2 separate regions of the Homo sapiens genome follow, and region 1 is linked to region 2. Evidence: promoter capture Hi-C in 16 types of primary human blood cells and fetal thymus (Javierre and others, 2016). All regions are on one chromosome and are shown on one strand. Each heading gives the region's core, a stretch centred on a gene start or on the middle of the fragment in contact. The rest is flanking DNA. Distances are from core to core; before and after follow the strand shown.

Region 1 (3,178 bases), core at 11-2,510, 160 kb before region 2:
GCAGACCGCAAACAAAAACACTGGCACTACTTAATGAAGCGTCTTTTCTGACAATGATCATTTCTTTTTTTTTTTTTTTTTTTTTTTTTTGAGACGGAGTCTCGCTCTGTCGCCCAGGCTGGAGTGCAGTGGTGCAATCTCGGCTCACTGCAAGCTCCGCCTCCCGGGTTCATGCCATTCTCCTGCCTCAGCCTCCTGAGTAGCTGGGACTACAGGCGCCCGCCACCACACCCGGCTAATTTTTTGTATTTTTAGTAGAGATGGGGTTTCACCGTGTTAGCCAGGATGGTCTCGATTTCCTGACCTCGTGATCCGCCTGCCTCAGCCTCCCAAAGTGCTGGGATTACAGGCGTGAGCCATCGCGCCCGGCCAGCAATGATCATTTCTTATTAGGTTATTTGTAGGTAAAGGTCAACTTCATCCATCTGCAAATTAGCACATACTATTAAGCCCTCAAAGTAGAATGATAAAATATCATTATTTCTTCTTAAAACATTTTAAAATTTAATTGTATGTCCCTTCTCACCATTCCTAAAATGATAAACAATCACGTAAAATTTGGTACAATTTAATACTCATGATCAGTTTAAGGAATCACTTCTAGCCACTACTTTCAAAAAGTAAGTTTTCACTATTTACTAAGAAAATGTTTCCTAACCCTTAAGAACAATCAGTAGACCTTCCGAAGGGATTGCTTGGGTGCTGGGGGGAGGTGGGAGGCATCTTGCTGCCTGAGGTCACTGAAGGGCTGTGGGTGTGTATTTGTGCTCAGCCCCGGCCAATTTTGACCTCCCTTGTTGCAACCCCTGACCTTAAGACAACAGGAGATGATAAACATGGTAAACCACATGCTGGACATAATGAGAAATTCCGCATAGAAAACATTTAAAAGTTATGTATGTTTCTATCTATAATCTTTTCAATACATACAAGTGCACTTTAGGAAATTACGGAATAATGATATTTTGTTTTATAGCCTAGATAACTTTTCAGAGTAGAGAATCCAGACAGGTTTTGCTGTGACTGAAGGAGTGTCTGCGCAGTAGAAGAGGTGGTCATGCCTGCAGCTGTGACCCTGGGTCTGTGGGCACACAAACTGGCTAGGTTTAGGAAGTGGCCCTCTCAAGGGTCAGGACAAAGACGCATGATGGTCAAGAACCCAGGAATCTCTGGTTCAAATCCTACTTCCAAGGAACACTTGTAGATATGTGTGCAAGACACACAACCCTTGCCGAATCTTAAGATTCCTGTGGTTGGCTGGGCACGGGGGCTCACGCCTGTAATCCCAGCACTTTGGGAGGCCAAGGCGGGCGGATCACAAGGTCAGGAGATCGAGACCATCCTGGCTAAAACGGTGAAACCCCGTCTCTACTAAAAATGCAAAAAAAATTAGCCGGGCATGGTGGTGGGCGCCTGTAGTCCCAGCTACTTCGGAGGCTGAGGCAGGAGAATGGCGTGAACCCGAGAGGCGGAGCTTGCAGTGAGCCGAGATTGCGCCACTGCACTCCAGCCTGGGCGACAGAGCGAGACTCCGTCTCAAAAAAAAAAAAAAAAAAAAAAAAAGATTCCTGTGGTCTATAATATAGGTAATAAATCCCACTTTGCTTCCTGCTCCCAACCAGCCCTCCCCACATAGAACTCACAGACATTTTCTCAAGGACTTTCTTGAAACTAGATTAAGTCATTTGGCTTTTCACCCAATTAGATACTGTCTGTGCTAAGAAAAGTCCAGAAGGCCTGGACCACAATAAGATTCTAACAGTATTACTTCTAAACCACTGGGGGCAGAAGGGTCCTACTCAAACTTGTTCGTATTAAGTAGACAGGCACTCCAAGCCAACTGGATGTTTTGCAGCTTAAGCATTTCTAAAACAGATCCATTAGTTCCTTAAAGTTAAATAAATTCTAGGCCCTTAAACCTCCAGGCATAAATTTCAAAGAAGACAGCTTTTTAAAAAAAGATTTGCTACTTGAAAAGTAGCTAGATCTCCAGCCTTCTGTTACTGCAAGTGCTATTTCTACATTATTCATAGCTACAGAAGGAGAAAAGGAGAGAACCGGGAAGCAGCTGGCAGGTGCGGATCCCACAGTCAAGAATGTCCGGACTCCCTCCTCCCACGCCACATGGGCATTCATTGGTAACACTCAGATGGTGTGAATCATGGCTGCCTGTGTGGATGCTTACTTGGATACAGGTTTTATTTCCCCTAAAAGACTGGAAGTCCCTTTGAGGCTAGTATTACTCCTGACCACAAATCCTGACTTTCCCTAGTGCCTTCCAGAATACTACATTTTCTCTTTCTGTGTTTTTTAAAACAGAGTTTGGATTTTGTTCTATGGCCCAGGCTGGAGTGCAGTGGCATGATCATAGCTTACTGCAGCCTTGAACTCCTGGGCTCAAGCAATCCTCCTGCCTCAGCCTCTCGAGTAGCTGGTACTACAGGCACATGTTACCACACCCAGCTAATTTTTTTAAATTAATTTTTCTGTAGAGATGGGGAGTCACTATGTTGCCCAGGCTGGTCTTGAACTCCTGGGCTCAAGTGATCCTCCTGCCTAAGCCTCCCAAAGTGCTGAGATTACAGGTGTGAGCCACTGTGCCTGGCCCTTGTCTTTTTTTTTTTGAAACGGGAGTCTCACTCTGTTGCCCAGGCTGGAGTGCAGTGGCGCTGTCTCGGCTCACTGCAACCTCCACCTCCTGGGTTCAAGCGATTCTCCTGCCTCAGCCTCCCGAGTAGCTGGGATTACAGGTGCCTGCCACCACGCCAGGCTAATTTTTTGTATTTTTAGTAGAGACGGGGGTTTCACCATGTTGGCCAGCGTGTTCTCAAACTCCTGGCCTCGTGATCCACCCGCCTTGGCCTCCCAAAGTGCTGGGATTACAGGTGTGACCCACCGCGCCTGGCCAGCCTGGCCCTTCTCTTTAACTTCAAATAGTATGTAACAACCTGATTCCAACCCTTTCTTCTAATCCATCATCCTTTTTTCCTTCTTGCCCTGTCCTGGACCTGGGGAAAGCCATTGACTGGCTCTCCACAGTGCCTCTTCATGTCTATCTTGCCTGCCTCGTGAAACTCTGACCCTGAATCAATGCTGCAACCTGTCACTTCCATCCTCAACTCATGTTTCTGTGCGGGGCCAGAGAAAAGACTGAACTGTGCAAAGTGTGCCAGTGCGA
Region 2 (3,123 bases), core at 320-2,819:
ATGCTCAAGCAGCGCCACGGAGAGTCCACATGGGACGGGACCAGGGCCTCCTGTCAGTGGCCGTGTGTTGAAACCACCGTGGAAGCAGGCCCTCCAGCCCAGCCAGCAACCATGTCACCACAACCCAGTAAGAGACCCTGGACCAGAACCAGCTAAGCTGCTCCCAGATTCCAGACCCACAGAAACTGGGAGAATAAATGTCTGTTGTTTTAAGCCACTACATTTGGGGCAATTTGTTATGTAGCAACAAATAATATAAGCCACAATACTCATTTGAAAAGAAAAAATACCCAAATCCTACCTAAGCTTGGCTTCTCAAGAAAAGATCAACCAGTAACAGGCCCAAAGGAAACCATGGGGGCTCTGGCTTCAGGGACTCATGTCACTTCAATGCACAAACTCTCCTGGAACTCCTGCCAGCCCAGGTGCATGTGGCAAGCATGGTGAATCAGGGCCAGTCAGCCGAGGGCAGGAGTTGAGTGTCACAGGCCACACCCAAAGGACATGGGGAACTGAGAGGAGGAAAGAGCTCCTGCCTAAAGGCGGAGGCTGTGGAAGAAAAGGAGAAGGGCTGAGGCCAGAGGGGGCCACCGAGGAAGAACCATGAACGCGAGGGCTTATGCACGCAGGAGGTCACAGAAAGACAGGTTCTTGGGAATCCATGCATCAAGGCAGGGGTGGGGGCATCCAGAGCCAGCTGCTGCCGCCATGGCCAACACAGGGGCCTATTCAAGCATTTGGCAAGAACTGGGGACTGGCAAGGCTATGGGTGAAGGAGGGGCCTGAGAACTCATTCAGGCAGGCCCAGCTCAGGGAAGGCAGCTCCACACAAGTTTGGCCAGTGGATCCCCTGCAAACCAGCAGGAAACCCCCCTCGTCCTGCCAGTCCTTGTAGCGCTGCCTCCTCTTCCTCTCGTCTGAGGGCCACTGTGCCCAGAAAACTGCCCCTAAATGCCATGGACTCCTCCTCACTCCCTCTGGAAACTGTGGGCTCCTGGTGCTTACCAGGCCTGAGCTCGGGCTGGGGGAGACTCCGGCCGCCGCTGTGGCTCACGGTCTCGCCCCGGGTGCTACTGCTATTTCCAACAGCCGCTTAGCCTAGACTCTGCTCAGGAAAGGCCAGCGGCTGAGGCAGTGCTGCCCAGCCCACGGACTCCCCATGCCAAGGGCTGCAGCCCCGCAACCTCGCTTCTGGATTCTTCGCTGATCCAGTCACCGGGGAGGGGCTGACTGGCAGCCACACAGAGGTTTCAGCCACTCGCTGCTCTTCAGTGGCAATTCTTATAATACAATCCCCACTCTGACGCAATTTTGTAAGAATGGCTTGGAGTCCAAAAACTTGACTACATTCTACTTCCGTGACAGGGAGAGCATGATCAAGGCCGCTAGGCAGGCCTGCATGCGAGGCACTCTGACAGACGGGGAAGCAAGGGCAGGCGAGACTTCCTTCTAGCTGCGCCCTCCCTCCTTCCCAGGCCTGCAGGAGCCCCGAGCGTAGGACTGGGCTGGTGCCGGCGCAGCAACGCTCCTTCTCACCGGCAGGTGGCGCTGTCTCCCGCGTGGACGGACAGAGACCCATCAGGCGGGGAGGGCCTGGGCGGTGGCGGCGCCCCCTTGGTGGGGCCGCAGAGCGGAGGAGCAGCAGCTGCCACCGGCCGGAAGCCTGCTGGCTCGGCCGAGAACAATGGCCGCCTGTCACTGTGGACAGCTGTCTCCCAGGCTAAGGCAAGGCTGCGCTCCCAGGGAATGCGGGCAGGGAGCCAGGGCGGAGGGCAGAGGACGAGAGCGAGGAGGAGAGCGCGGGCACCCACTGATGCTGGCGGCCTCGGGTATTCGCTTTCTCTCTCTTCTCCCACCTTGTTCCTTTTCCCCGGATGCACGCATGCACTAGTAATGCCGAATTTAGAACAACAGGGAAAGGAAAGGAAATGGCAAAGGAAGGGAAAGGAAATGGCCGACAGGAAATGGCAAGGAAGGGAAAATCCACTGCAACTCTGCTGCCTGCTGGCCTGTCCAGGGACAACTATTCAGCTGGGTGGGACGTTGCTACCCCCTTGTGGCACCCCTGCTGCAGCCTGCGATTCTTACGCCCTGTATTTCTGGTCTAACATCAACCAACACTTTGGCGAAATATAATAAAATGAAATTACTAGGAGAATGAAAGAAAGTCACATGAAATAAAAGCCCTGCTTTTTAATGATTATATCCTCTGTGAAATGGATCTGCAGCCCTCTCCATTTCTGGGTTCCCCTGGCCACACCATGCTTATGGCTGTCCCAGGAGCAGGCTGACAGACAAGCTTCCACCAGCATCTAACCATGGGGCTCATGGACACCGTAGAGCGTCTCCACCCAACAGAATCCTGACTTGGGGGCAGCTGAGGCAGGGGGCCCGAGCGTTGAGGGGACCACGCTGCTGCCCCGAGACCTGCTGGCATGCCACCTGGCCAACCCTGACTTCGCCTGCCCGGGCGCATGTTAACTGAGTTACAACACTGAGGGCACTTGAACCTGGCTGCATGACCAGAGATCGATCACCTGTGAGATCCTCTGTGAAACGGGATAAGCATCTTTAATTTCCTGGGCTGTTCTGGAACTTCAGTCAGACAGGACACAGGAGGGTGTCTGCACCACCCACCCCTGCCTCGTGGGCTGACTGGGAACTATATGACCTGTGGAGGGCTGTGACCGCCACCCTCCACCTCACTGGGGCCGCAAGCCTTCTCTGCTCCTTGATTCTGCTGCCGTTGTGAGCGAGGGCCCCAGCACCCTTAGGGACCCCAATCAATGGGCTTCCCACAATGTCGTCACCCTTTGTTGCCTGCTAAGCAGCCCTGGGGCCACCTCAGAAGAAACAGAACTCACAGGTCACAGGGGCCTTTTCCTCCTCGTCATCGTCCTCCTCCTCTTCTTCTTCCTCCCTGGGCAACTTCCTGAATTCGGAAAGGTCTGTCTGTAGCAGCTGTGAAACTGCTTCGTGGGCCAGAGCAGCAGCAAGTGGTGGCGGGGCCTTCCTAGGGATGAGGAGGGGGAAGTGAGGGGCAGCCCCCAGCAGGAGACCACACCTAGCCCCCCTTCCCCAACTGTCAGCCCACATGCTGAGGGGTCACGGCCAGCAGGGCGG

The links. Contacts are between HindIII fragments. The CHiCAGO score rates a contact against its expected background, and 5 or more counts as called.
Region 1: a fragment that was not itself captured here is called in contact with the fragment with the promoter of PPM1F-AS1 in region 2 in 12 of 17 cell types (megakaryocytes, neutrophils, endothelial precursors and 9 more); the score reaches 15.4 in megakaryocytes.

The regions. Positions count from the first base shown.
Region 1 is chr22:21,773,177-21,776,354 of GRCh38, forward strand. The region is part of intron 6 of MAPK1 (mitogen-activated protein kinase 1); the gene reads right to left. Among named protein-coding and RNA genes, the nearest start is that of YPEL1, 39 kb to the left of the region's middle. The HindIII fragment of the contact is 4,906 bases long and covers 1-3,178 here.
Region 2 is chr22:21,936,668-21,939,790 of GRCh38, forward strand. PPM1F-AS1 (PPM1F antisense RNA 1) reads left to right here and starts at 1,570. Exons shown (of 2, transcript NR_147620.1): 1 at 1,570-2,946. It overlaps PPM1F (protein phosphatase, Mg2+/Mn2+ dependent 1F), which reads right to left. Exons shown (of 8, transcript NM_014634.4): 3 at 2,865-3,013. RefSeq lists enhancers at 1,187-1,993, 1,994-2,801, 2,802-3,123 and a silencer at 1,545-1,704. The HindIII fragment of the contact is 1,993 bases long and covers 305-2,297 here.